Linked DNA regions of Homo sapiens: region 2 is linked to region 1. The links are contacts of gene promoters, found by promoter capture Hi-C in blood cells and fetal thymus (Javierre and others, 2016). All regions are on one chromosome and are shown on one strand. The core of a region is centred on a gene start or on the middle of the fragment in contact, and the rest is flanking DNA. Distances in the headings are between cores, read along the strand shown.

The links. Contacts are between HindIII fragments. The CHiCAGO score rates a contact against its expected background, and 5 or more counts as called.
Region 2: a fragment that was not itself captured here is called in contact with the fragment with the promoter of GFM1 in region 1 in 1 of 17 cell types (naive B cells); the score reaches 5.3 in naive B cells.

What each region holds. Positions count from the first base shown.
Region 1 is chr3:158,639,038-158,646,266 of GRCh38, reverse strand. GFM1 (G elongation factor mitochondrial 1) reads right to left here and starts at 1,740. Exons shown (of 18, transcript NM_024996.7): 1 at 1,552-1,740; 2 at 486-638; 3 at 1-102. The coding sequence starts at 1,632. The HindIII fragment of the contact is 2,960 bases long and covers 1,143-4,102 here.
Region 2 is chr3:154,310,116-154,317,344 of GRCh38, reverse strand. DHX36 (DEAH-box helicase 36) reads left to right here. Exons shown (of 25, transcript NM_020865.3): 2 at 1,182-1,306; 3 at 2,065-2,299; 4 at 5,671-5,709. Among named protein-coding and RNA genes, the nearest start is that of DHX36, 11 kb to the left of the region's middle. The HindIII fragment of the contact is 777 bases long and covers 2,635-3,411 here.

The DNA of each region.
Region 1 (7,229 bases), core at 491-2,990:
TTTCCACATGGTGTAAGTGGCTGCTGACTGAATAGTGATTCCTCTTTGTCTCTCTAGTTCCATGGAATCCATGACAGCACCAACTCCATCTTTACCTTTCACCTAAACACAAGCACAGCAATTCAGACTTTCTCTGTCCCTGCATTCCAAGAAGGAAAGAAATCTTAACTGAAATGGAAACAGTTGCCAGGTGCAGTGGCTCATGCCTATAATCCCAGCACTGTGGGAGACTGAGGCAGGATGATAATTTGAGCCCAAGAGTTTGAGACCAGCCTGAGCAACAAAGTGAGACCTCTTCTATAAAAAATAAAAATAAAACCAGAACACAGATACTTAACTTAAGCAACTTTCAGATAAGCCTAACTGTCAAAAGTCCGCTGTTACCATTGTTTTAATCTTTCAGGTTTATAAGCTTTATTAAATAATAGCAACAAAACAATTAAAATCTGGTTCTAATTAATCCGGAATCAACCGTGAATATATACCTCATGCATCTTTGCAATTCTGCCAGTGTAGTAAAGGACTCGTTCTGTTAATGTAGTTTTCCCAGAATCAATGTGAGCTGAGATTCCAATATTTCGTATTTTTTCATTAGGAATCACCCCTGATGAAGACCATCGGCAGGCCTTCCAATTAACCTGAAAAAAATACGAGAGCTCAATTCTATGCACCTTTTATAAGAGAGAACAACAGACAATTAAAAGGAGTATGGTGGACATTATTCCTCCAAGAAATCTCACTGGATATGAGATAGCTTGAGAAAGGCACCAGGGGAAACCTTTAAGCCTGGAACTCTTGTAATCAGAGGACAGACTTCAAAACAAGACAGTAAAGACGTATTCTTTTAAAATTAATTAATGAATAAGTTAAATTTAATTAAAATGGGAGACACTTTTTACTGCAGATTTGAAAATACACACTGGGGCAGATAAAATCACAAAGACAGCTCCAAAAAATACTTTAATAGAAAATACAAATTTTAGCTTAAATTTAACTTAATTTTTTTCCCTTTCTCCTTTATTGTAGTTCACAGATGACAAATATGTTTGAGAACTTATATGCTCTATGCAGTGATGCTAGTAGCTCCAAGACAGCCCCCAAAGATTTCCAATTCCCTCCAAACAAAAACAATTCATGAAGCTTGTTTTAACTTTACTCTGGTGGCAGGGGATGGGGATCCCTATTAGATGGAATGAAGATACAATATAAACCTTTCCCTATAGGACTGCACATCCAAAATGCACAATTATTCACGGGAAAAGAGAGGCAAAAAAAAAAAAAAAAAACCTTAGAAAAGGTGGATAAAATATCAAAGTATCTGAGTGACAGACACTTTTAGTTGATTAAACCCTAGGGATACCAGAGAGCGAAACAAACGAGCTAACGAGCTAATGTGCAGGCACCGAGGTGCTTTTCAGCACTGACGAGCGACTGCCAGTATTCGGAGCTGTCAGTCATGAGGACCCAGGGGGTGTCACGGCCTTCCATTGCCCAGAAGGGATCACAAGGTTCCGGGAATGGTCCCGATTTAGCCTCTCTATGCTCCGGTACCTGCTTCCTCTGCCAGCCTAGGGAGGCGGGGGCCCTTCCGCGCCCCAGAGCCGCGACGGCTGCAGCTCCCAGGAGTCTCATGGCAAGCGCAGAGCACGCGTCAAAGTCCCGTGGCGCCGGGTGGGTTCAGCTGCCGGTAACGCACCGGGAAGCGGTCAAAGTCACGCCGGCAGCCAATGTTGTAAGAGCACTTCCGGGGCAAAGGACGCGAGGAAAAAGAGAGTGAGGAAAAGAAAGAAGAGCAACTGGATTGGAGGCGGAGCAGTGCCTACGCTGCTCGCGCGCCGTCTGCCGACTTGGAAGAGAAAGTGCAATCGCTTTGCGGAGCTAAAGAAGTGTTTGCTCCCAGTAAGACGGCATAGGTATATGGGTGAGGGAAGGGAGTCCTTTTGTCTTCGTCTTCTTTTTTAAATATTACCTCTGTATGAAGATACAGAATTTAAACATGGTTGTTAGGCCTATAAAGCAATGTGGAGAAATGTATATAACAATTTAAGTAGAAAAGAGCAAAATTGTCTATTACAAATATTAATAGGTATATATATGACATGGCCTGAAAAAGAACGTGGACAAATTATAGTGAATGAACTATCAATTACAATTACAAATACTTTTCCTCATGTCAAAATGTTATTTGTTATTGTTCGATGTCAGACATTTCATGTCCTGTCCATGTGGAAGACTGCATCCTTGACCATTCTGCTTGGATGTGTTAAGAGGCATGTTGAACCTAACAGGTCCAAAACTGAGCTTCGGATCTTCTTCCCCAAACCTTCCACAGTCTTATCCATCTCATAAATGTAAACTTTAGTGATTCTAGCCAAAAATATTAGTCGCTTTGACACCATGCTGTGACATCTCCGGTCTAATCAGTCAGCATATCCTGTAAGCTCTACTTTCAAAAAGACATCCAGGGCCGGACGCGGTGGCTCACACCTGTAGTCCCAGCACTTTGGAAGGCCGAGGCGGGCAGATCACGAGGTCATGAGATGGAGACCATCCTGGCTAACACAGTGAAACCCCGTCTCTACTAAAAATACAAAAAAAAATTAGCCGGGCGCGGTGGCGGGCGCCTGTAGTCCCAGCTACTCGGGAGGCTGAGGCAGGAGAATGGTGTGAACCCAGGAGGCGGAGCTTGCAGTGAGCCGAGATCACGCCACTGCACTCCACCCTGGGTGACAGAGCGAGTCTCAAAAAAAAAAAAAAAAAAAGAAAATCCAGAACTTACTTCTCCCCACCTCTCAGTACTGCCGTTTCTGGAGGGAACTATTGTAATAGCCTTGTAACCGATCTCACTGCTTCTATCCTTGCTGTTGTCAGTGGGCCGGTTCAGGTGCTTGACTTCACCACACAAAAGAATTTGAAAGCAAGTACAAAGTAAGAGTAGGCAAAAAAGTTTATTGTAAACCAAAAGTACACTCTGAGAGGCAGAGTGGGCTGCTCAGAAGAGAGACAGACAGCCTTTAGTATCTCTAGGGAATTCCCTTTATGGGTGAGGCAGGAGAACAGGGTCTAGAGACAGGGAACCGAAGGCCCTGCTGACTTCCTAGAGCTGAACCAAAAGGAAAACCCCACCTCTCCATGCCCAAGTAACAAAAGGATCGGAGGCTACTCCCAATGCACTGCATTGCAGATGAAAAAATGGAAAGTACCTCTGACTGGTCCCCTCTGGCAAATAATCAGACTGGTAGCAGGCCAAGTCCTCATGTGTAACTTTGTAACTTCACTTCAGCCTCTGATTGGTCACCTCCTGCAACCAAGCAGGCTGGTTATGGGCCACTCCTTCATTTACATAGGGTGTAACCAATGGGAACGCTCTAGAGGGTATTTAAATCCCAGAAAATTCTGTAACAGGTGCTCTTGAGCTGTGGAGTGTACTTTTGTTTCAACACATCTGTGCCTTCATTGCTCCATTCTTTCATTGCTTTGCTTATGTGTTTTGTCCAATTCTTTGTTCAAACGCCAAGAACCTGTATGACTCATAGTCAAGACCCTTCACTGGTAACATGGGAGCTGTACATATATATTCATAAAATACTGGTAAGGTCAAGTATGCAAAGGTGGACCTGTGGTTGGCACAGGTACTTGGCATCTACATGTTCTAACACAGGAGTCCCCAACCTCTGGGCCAGAGACCAGTATCAGTCCATGGCCTGTTAGGAACCAGGCCACACAGTAGGAGGTAAGCAGTGGGCGAGCGAGTGAAGTTTCATCTGTATTTACACCCTCTCCTTATCACTTGTATTACCACCTGAGCTCTGCCTCCTGTCAGATTAGCAGTGGCATTAGATTCTCATGGGAGTGTGAACCCCCTTGTGAACTATCCATTCAAGGGATCTGGGTTACGCACTCCTTATGAGAATCTAATGCCTGATGACCTGAGGTGGAGCTAAGGTGTGGCCGCTAGGGCTGGGGAACAGCTGCAAATACAGATTAACATTAGCAAAGAGGTTTGACTGCACAGAGACCATAATAAATCAATTGCTTGCAGATTCATATCAAAACCCTGTCAGTGAGTGTCAAGTGACAAAAGCTGCACTGGTGGCAAGCTTTATAGTGGCAAGTGAGTTGATGTATTTCAGTTGTACAGTTGCATCTGATGGCAGGCTTTAAAGTCTTGCGTGGCCCGCCCATTATTTTATTTACCACTTCCGTCCGCGCTTCCTTCCCACACTGAGCACTTGCCTCAGTCACAGTTTTGGTAAGCCCACAACCTAACTCTAGCCAAAACGAGTAAAAAACAAATGTCACTGGAGAGCTTCTTTGAAAATGGGGAAAGACCCAATGATGAGAAAATGGAAAACTCTAAGACTGCTAATAAAAGGAAAGCTGCATGTGAAAGAAAATACCTAGAGTCCTACTTAAATTGCAGGTTCACTGCAACAGGTGATTCACATTCTCCAAGCCTGCTTTATATAATATGTGGCAAGCGGCTATCCAACAAACCCATGAAACCTTCAAAACTGCTTCGCCACATGGAGACCAAGCACCCTACATAAAAAGAGAAGCCTTTGGAGTTTTTCAAAAGAAAAAATGTGGACACGAAGAACAGAAGCAATTATTGAAGGCCGCCACTTCCATCAAATGTGTCTGCATTGACAGTGTCATTCTTAGTGGCTAACAGCATTGCTAAGCTAAGAAGCTCTTTACTACTGGAGAATTGAACCTGCCTGCTGCTAAGGACATTTGTCATGAACTTTTAGGAGATGCTGCAGTTCAAAAGGTGGCACGTGTGCCTCTTTGGGCTAGCACCATAATTAGAGGAAATGATGAAATAGCAGAGGATATCGAGGCACAATTACTAGAAAGGATTAATGGGGCTGGGTGCAGTGGCTCATGCCTATAATCCCAGCACTTTGGGAGGCCGAGGCGGGCGCATCACAAGGTCAGGAGTTCAAGACCAGCCTGACCAACATGGTAAAACCCCATCTCTACTAAAAATACAAAAATCTGCCAGGCATGGTGGCATGCGCCTGTAATCCCAGCTACTCAGGAGGCTGAGGCAGGAGAATCACTTGAACCCGTGAGGCGGAGGTTGCAGTGAGCCAAGATCATGCCACTGCACTCCAGCTTGGGTGACAGATCGAGACTCAATCTCAAAAAAAAAAAAGAAAAGAAAGGATTAATGGGTCACTCTGGTACAAAATCCAGGTTGATTAATTTACTGAGGTTGACAACAAGTCAACAATGCTTGTTTTTGTGTGATTTTTCAGGTGGATGTGCATGAGGATATGTTATGTGCACTTTTGTTGCCAACCAACACCACAGCGGCAGAACTAGTCAAGTCTTTGAATGATTACATAGCAAAACTGAATTGGTTATTTTGTGTCAGTTTATGGACCGACAGAGCAGCTGCCATGACTGGACAGCTTTCTGGTTTCACTATTCGGGTCAAAGAGGTTGCTTCTGAATGTGAGTCTACACACTGAGTCGTCCATAGAGAAATGCTAGCTAGCCAGAAAGTATCAAATGAACTTAACGTTTTGCAGGATGTGATTAAAATTATCAACCACATTAAAGTACGTGCCCTTAACTCACATCTGTTCACACAGCTCCGTGAGGAGATGCACACAGAGCACACACACCTTCTTATACACAGAAATGAGATAGCTTTTTAAAGGTGGATCACTGGCCAGAGTTTCTGAGTTATGAGAGTCATTCCACAGATTTCTTTTTTTTTTTTTAATTATACTTTAAGTTTTAGGGTACATGTGCACATTGTGCAGGTTAGTTACATATGTATACATGTGCCATGCTGGTGCGCTGCACCCACTAACTCGTCATCTAGCATTAGGTATATCTCCCAATGCTACCCCTCCCCCCTCCCCCCACCCCACCACAGTCCCCAGAGTGTGATATTCCCCTTCCTGTGACCATGTGATCTCATTGTTCAATTCCCACCTATGAGTGAGAATATGCGGTGTTTGGTTTTTTGTTCTTGCGATAGTTTACTGAGAATGATGGTTTCCAATTTCATCCATGTCCCTACAAAGGACATGAACTCATCATTTTTTATGGTTGCATAGTATTCCATGGTGTATATGTGCCACATTTTCTTAATCCAGTCTATCATTGTTGGACATTTGGGTTGGTTCCAAGTCTTTGCTATTGTGAATAATGCCGCAATAAACATACGTGTGCATGTGTCTTTATAGCAGCATGATTTATAGTCATTTGGGTATATACCCAGTAATGGGATGGCTGGGTCAAATGGTATTTCTAGTTCTAGATACCTGAGGAATCGCCACACTGACTTCCACAATGGTTGAACTAGTTTACAGTCCCACCAACAGTGTAAAAGTGTTCCTATTTCTCCACATCCTTTCCAGCACCTGTTGTTTCCTGACTTTTTAATGACTGCCATTCTAACTGGTGTGAGATGGTATCTCATAGTGGTTTTGATTTGCATTTCTCTGATGGCCAGTGATGATGAGCATTTTTTCATGTATTTTTTGGCTGCATAAATGTCTTCTTTTGAGAAGTGTCTGTTCATGTCCTTCGCCCACTTTTTGATGGGGTTGTTTGTTTTTTTCTTGTAAATTTGTTTGAGTTCATTGTAGATTCTGGATATTAGCCCTTTGTCAGATGAGTAGGTTGCGAAAATTTTCTCCCATGTTGTAGGTTGCCTGTTCACTCTGATGGTAGTTTCTTTTGCTGTGCAGAAGCTCTTTAGTTTAATTAGGTCCCATTTGTCAATTTTGGCTTTTGTTGCCATTGCTTTTGGTGTTTTGGACATGAAGTCCTTGCCCACGCCTATGTCCTGAATGGTAATGCCTAGGTTTTCTTCTAGGGTTTTTATGGTTTTAGGTCTAACGTTTAAATCTTTAATCCATCTTGAATTGATTTTTGTATAAGGTGTAAGGAAGGGATCCAGTTTCAGCTTTCTACATATGGCTAGCCAGTTTTCCCAACACCATTTATTAAATAGGGAATCCTTTCCCCATTGCTTGTTTTTCTCAGGTTTGTCAAAGATCAGATAGTTGTAGGTATGCGGCGTTATTTCTGAGGGCTCTGTTCTGTTCCATTGATCTATATCTCTGTTTTGGTACCAGTACCATGCTGTTTTGGTTACTGTAGCCTTGTAGTATAGTTTGAAGTCAGGTAGTGTGATGCCTCCAGCTTTGTTCTTTTGGCTTAGGATTGACTTGGCGATGCGGGCTCTTTTTTGGTTCCATATG
Region 2 (7,229 bases), core at 1,774-4,273, 4.3 Mb after region 1:
CAATTTCCATATATTCATCTACCTAGTCATTATTACAAGTCGGGAAATTTCATCTTTGTTCTTAATTGCCTAAAATCCAAACTTAGCATCCTATTGTGACCTCCATCACCACCACATGTACACAAAAATGTACAGTAACACAGAGCAGCTTCCTTTTAATGATTCATCTTACTGCTGCTCTCTCAGGATCCACCCTTGAATTTGAAAACAGTTCTTTGATTCTTTCTTCCTTTTTGTCTCTCCCCAACTTCCACCAAATAGTCATTAAGTCCTGTGGTTTCTTTCTTTCGATTTTTGACTGTTTTCTTTCCATTTATACTTTTACCTTCCTCCTCCTTTGGTTCTTTAACCTAACACACTCTAATTTTCACCACTCCGCGTGTGTTTCCTTTTGCCTGTGGATTTATATGCACGTTAGAACCTAAGGTTTGTAGTCCCATAAATTTTGAAGAATCTGTTTTTCAACTTTTCAACTTACTATATCTAAATATAAAAGTCTCCAAAGAATTGGGTTTTGGCATTCATTCTCTTTTTTTTTTTTTCACCTTGGACATTTCTTAGATGCGTAAAGTTTCTGCAAAGTTTCATAGTTCACCAAGGACCTTTATATTTGTCCAGTCTGTTGTGTTTTATTCTCATTCTTTGAAGCAACTGCGTCATTTGCCACATTGGATCACCTTATAAGCACTGATGAATTTTATTTACTCCTTCTGAGCTCAGCCTTACTTACCAATTTATTCTTCTGTTTAGTGTAAGAACTTTCAAATGTTCATTACAACCAAACTATTTCCAGTTTTCAACTTTTTTCGTAAACCATTTGAGTTTTAATAACTTTGAAATTTTAAGATAAGGAGAAATTCATAATAATTAGTATGTGAGGGTTTGGGGTAAGAGAACCAGAGTTGTAGGAAGAGACATAAATGAGCTTTCTTTGCCAATCATATTAGGGCTAATTTTATAAATGCTTGTTGGAAAAGGTCTAGAAGGATATGTACGAAAATTTTAACAATTAATTAGGTCTAGGAAGGGGGGTATTGGGCTAGAGGACACCTGTGGATAACTTTCTTTTATATGTATTTGTTGAACATATATTACTTAGCCTTTATTTTCTTCAGTATCAAATAATTTTTGCATATGCTTTCTTATGTTGACAAGGATGCTTTTTTCTTTGCACAAACTAGAGAGCTGTAGTACACATGGATGAACGACGAGAAGAACAAATTGTACAGTTACTGAATTCTGTTCAAGCGAAGAATGATAAAGAGTCAGAAGCACAGATATCCTGGTTTGCTCCTGAGGATCATGGGTACGACAAGAAATATTTTTTTAAAGAATAGGCAAAGAGTAACACTTTAATAATAAAAATAACATCTTTATTTTCTTCGATAAGTGAATTTTAACCTTTACGTACTTTTTTTCCTTATGTAGATTAAACAGATTTAGAAAATGACTTTTAAAAATTTAGATGGCATGTTTCCATAGGAAAGCTAAATGGTATGAATAATAGTGTATCTGGATATGAGATGTATTAAGTTGTTATTTATTGTTCTCCCTACCTGTCCTCTTTGTATTTATGAAATTATTCTGTCTGGGAGATCTGCAAGAAGTGAAATTGCTACCGTTTTAGAAAGATTACAAGAACTGTATCATTTAGAGGAAAAATTAGTACAAGTATTTCAAAGACTGTGTATTGTAGCATCCTATTTGTAGCTCAGAAAGGGTGGCAAGAAAAAAAGATGTTGTGACATAAAACAAGTTCGAGAAATCCAGAAAAAGAGAAACACTGTAAGTAACCGCAGTGAAGGAATGACTATTCTGTGGATTTTTATTTTTAACTATCACAAGGAATAACTTAATCTGGCAATATCTATTTAAAGGGAAGAAAAATTTGAATTTATTATAAGAATCTAAGTATATTTTCATAATTACTGTACTAAGAGAAAAGAAAAGCTTTGGATTTGGATGACTTTGAAATATTTCAACAGCGTATTGTTTTGTTTTGTTTTGTTCCAGTGTTTGAGTGGCTCATCTGACCTTTCTTCCTTTCTTATTTTGTCAAAACAGATACGGTACTGAAGTTTCTACTAAGAACACACCATGCTCAGAGAACAAACTTGACATCCAGGAAAAGAAGTTGATAAATCAAGAAAAAAAAATGTTTAGAATCAGGAACAGATCATATATTGACCGAGATTCTGAGTATCTCTTGCAAGAAAATGAACCAGATGGAACTTTAGACCAAAAATTATTGGAAGATTTACAAAAGAAAAAAAATGACCTTCGGTATATTGAAATGCAGGTAGTAGAAAGATGTCAAAAAATATTTTGTCATTTTTTTCTTACACTTTATAAAAATGTATGTATGGTTAGAGGTAGCTGCATGGCATAGATCAGTGAGATCCTCAACAAGACATCCCTGTGGGAATTAATTTCTTTTCGAATGGTAGAGAAAAGCAGTGGGAATGGAAGTTACACATAACCTACAGTATCCTATCTCATCCACAGAAGCTTATGTGGTGAGAAGAAATGTTTGAGAAATGCTAGTGCCAATGAAAAAAAAACTTACTCTTCAGCTTTTCTAGGCCAGTTTAGTGAGGTGCCATGTGCAGTAAAGGCAGTTAAAATTGTAAAGCTTGTTCCAGATTACTTAATACATCTTCTTTTTATAGATGATAAAATTAAATATTTCAAAAATTATGTGATGTGCTTTGTTCACTAACATTTTAAATACAGGACTATCACAACACCTGAGATCTCCTGAATTCTGATATTTTCTTTCTATGCTAGGCAAGATATTTTAAGGTCCCTTTCAGTTAAAACATAAAATTGTGTGATTTGTGGGTGTTCTAGAGATGTAATAAAGTGGTCTCATGTATGTATGTATATGTTTAAGAGAAATTACTGAGGAAACTCTGAGGGCCATATCTTTAATATGTAAATACATACTGCTGTCTTTGATAAAGGAAGGATATAGCACCTCCTATAGGAAAGAAAGGATCCCTTGGCTCACTGATGAAAGCTGAATTTCCTTAATAGGAAAGAAAGGATCCATTGACTGTTACTGATGACAGTTGGATTTCCGTATTAGAATAGATAAGCTGAGGTTGTCCAGGGCCAAATTGTGTAGCTCTTTGATGCCTGTTGGGTAAAAATGTGATTTGAAAATGGAGGAAATTTCAGGATGAATTAATTGAGAATCTTCTGGTTGAGAAGAGCTGCTTTAACAGCCTTAACAGGAGGAATTAGTGTCTTTCTCTTTGCTGTATATGATGGACAGAACTCATATACTAAAGATGGGTGATTGATCTAGTTCAGAGAAAGAAAAATGTGTAAAACATTTAAAAAGTTGGTGGTCTTCCTATTTCCCATATGTTGTCATAAATGCTTCATGTGTACTATATTATTTAAGCTTCTCAACAACCTTGAATAAGAGACTACATGTCTGTTGTAGATGAGGAAAAAGATTTAAGTGACCTACCTGAGGTTGCATAGCTCATAACAGAATCAGATCTAAAATTCAGCTGTGTTTAACAACTCAGCTTTTTAATCATTTTTAGCATGTGCAATATTTTTTCTTTATGTTCTTTAATAAACATTAATTTTCTACTTACTGGATGCCAGTTACTGTGCTATATATGTGTGCGTGTATGTATATATATATATTTAAGACAGGGTCTCACTCTGTCACCCAGGCTAGAGTACAGTGGTGCCATCATGGCTCACTGCAGCCTCGACCTCCTGGGCTCAAGTGATCCTTCCACCTTAGCCTCCTGAGTAGCTGGCACTACAGGCATGTGCCAGTACGCCTGGTTAATTTTTGTATTTTTTGTAGAGACAGGGTTTTGCTTTGTTGCCCAGGCTGGTCTTGAACTCCTGGGCTCAAGCAATCCTCCTACCTCCACCTCCCCAAATTCTGTAATTATGGGAGTGAGCCACACCAGCCAGTTATGCTTATTACTGTTTTTGAAGAGTAATAAGATATTTCCTGTCCTCAGAGAGCTTATAGTTGAATTATCTCACATCTTCGTTATGGTCAAAAGTTAACAAAGTAGAAACTTTGGCTGCCTTGGGAAAGAATATTGGACTATACCTCTCTTTCCAGTGGCATTTACATGTATAAAGCAAATACGATTAATGCCAGTTTGAAATGCAGTGGGATAGCTTGTGTATAATTATGTGTTAAGATGGTAACATTTGACTACCTGGGGTGTTAATACTTATGTCATTAAAAATAGTTTTTAGATAATTTAAAAATTATTACAAGATAAGTAAGTTATTACAAGGTAAGATAAGTGTGGTAGCTTTTGTTATTTTAAATGACTAGAATTCATTTCAGTCTTCACATTGACTGTTATTTTTATGGTATTGGTAAGAATTACCTGACCATAACAAACATGGCAATAATATAATACTAGATTACCAAAGACAGTTCTTTATTTATTTTATATATATATATATATATATATATATATATATATATATATATATATATTTTAATTATTTCCTTTTTTTTTTTTGAGATGGAGTCTTGCTCTGTCACCCAGGCTGGAGTGCCGTGGCACGATCTCGGCTCACCACAACCTCCACCAATTCTCCTGCCTTAACCTCCCAAGTAGCTGGGACTACAGGCGTGTGCCACTATGCCCAGCTAACTTTTTGTATTTTTAGTAGAGACGGGATTTCACCTTGCTGGCCAGGCTGGTCTCAAACTCCTGACCTCATGATCTGCCTGCCTCGGCTTCCCAAAGTGCTGGGATTACAGGCGTGAGCCACCATACCCAGCCGATTTTTTCCATCTTAATAAAGGGTGTTTATTAAAGCTGACTTTATTTTTATGCCACTGAAGTTTTTTTTTTACATTATATGTACCTAGTTGAATGTAAACTACAGGACTGCTTCTTAAATGTTTTTATGTAATACGGGTATAGAGTTCCATAAAAGTTTTCAGAATTAGGAAGAAATTGTCACATAAATATAGGAAAAATAGTCATTCCTTTTGTAGTATTCTAATTGTAATTTAACACATTTGAAATTCATTGAGTAGCTTATATGTTTCAGAAACTGGTATTTGCTTTTTATATAAAGGTTTTTCATTTAGATCTTGTGGCAACCGTATGAGATAAAATCTTTGAGGCATTCATACTTTAAGTTTGACTTAACTGAGATCACAGCTCTAAAATGGCAGTACCAGATTTTCTGACTGCAGATATTACTTGTTTTAAGTTTTCTCTTACACTCAAAGGCAAGTATATCCTGAAATTTTTGATTCTGCTCCAGTACTTAATGTATTAGTAAATAGTGCACTGTTGGGTGGGAAAAACATAATATAGAAATCAAATCTAAGATGAATATATAAAACATATTGAAAAATAGTGAAAGTAATTTAGCAATTATTAGAATACTGTTAGAGGACAGATCCGATTTCATTTTACTGCCACTGACTTAAAGCATTGTCTCTATTTTGCTGGATGTAATGGAGTTCTGGTTTTGAATGTTTCAGACATAAAAGGAATTGGTAAATTATTCTTTATAATGTTTTTACACAAGCCATGAGATAATAAAAATACTTTCGGATTCTAGCCAATTTACCCTGTGATGTATCCTAAATACCATGATTATAATTTGATTACATATCTTCTGTGAAAATTTAAAACTTTTTTTAAATTTCAGCATTTCAGAGAAAAGCTGCCTTCGTATGGAATGCAAAAGGTAAAGTGCTTTTTTCCACTATTTAATTTGATTTGCAAATTAAATACACAATTTTTTTTAAAGCTCTATATCAAGAAAAAATGTAAATTAATGAACTTTCTTTTACAGGATAGTATTGGAAGTTAATTTTATTCTTTTGAATTAAGGACAAAAAGAAAAAAAAGGTTCATAAACAATTTTCCTCATGTTTGCTCCTGTTTTTGTCCATAATTGAAATCTTTGAAATTTAAAAAGTAAAATTTCCTCCTATAAGTTAGTTTGGATAAATACCTTGCAGTTAAGTCAAGACCAAATACTTCAGTTAAAAATAATATACAAATTATTGTATTAATTAAAATCAATGTACAAAAAAAGTACTACTAAAAATACAGTTAATTTTAATTTATTACACTATATCTTAACATATGATTACCCTATGTAGAATAATAGGATCTCTCATCCTTCTCTGTTTTCTCAACCTTATTTTATTTTATTTTACTTTATTTTTTACTTTTCATAGCACTTGTTACCACCTGACATCTGTTTGTCTTCCCCTCCCAGGCCAGTGTAAGTTCTTGAGGATAGGATTTGTTTTGTTCACTCTGTGTCTCTTGACTCAGAACAGTGCCTGGCATTCTAAAGACTTCCAGTAAATAAACTTCTGATTGGATGAATCACATTTCACTTCTGAGTATTTACCAGCTATAATTTCAGTGTTCAAACTTAAAACTTTTTCTGATATATACACATCTATGTATGTATAATGTGTTAGAATAAGTGGGGAATATATATATATGTATATACATATATATATATATATATATATATATATATATATATATATATATATTTTTTTTTTTTTTTTTTTTTTTTTTTTTTGAGAGGGAGTCTTGCTCTGTTGCCAGGCTGGAGTGCAGTGGCGCAATCTCGGCTTACTGCAAACTCCCGACTCTCGGGTTCAAGCGATCCTCCTGCCTCAGCTTCCCGAGTAGCTGGGGTTACAGGCACCCACCACGCCCAGCTAATTTTTGTGTTTTTAGTAGAGATGGGGTTTCACCATGTTGGCCAGGATGGTCTCAATCTCCTGACCTCATGATCCGCCTACCTCAGCCTCCCAAAGTGCTGGGATTATAGGCATGAGCCACCATGCCCGGCCTAAGTGGGGAATTTTTAAAAGGTAGGTTTTCAAGTTAAATTGTTTTATACATGAAAATAACCCCTAACATCCCTTTGAGGTAGTAAGATGACTTCGTTTATACAGTGAATATTATTATTAAAAATATTAATGTATACAATTTTGAGGAAGAATGAAACCCAAATATGAGGTTTTCTAGATAGCTTTGGTTTAGATATTCAATGACTTTATTTTAATTATTTGAAAGGAAGTAATTTTAAAATACAATATTCTCTTCCTTGCTCCTAAAATGGCATACAAAACTTGTTCTGCAGACAAAGCCATATTTATGAATTATATAAATTTGTAATGTCCTCAATAGTTGTTTAGGCCAGGAGTTTGCTTCTGTACTCAGTAGCCCCACATA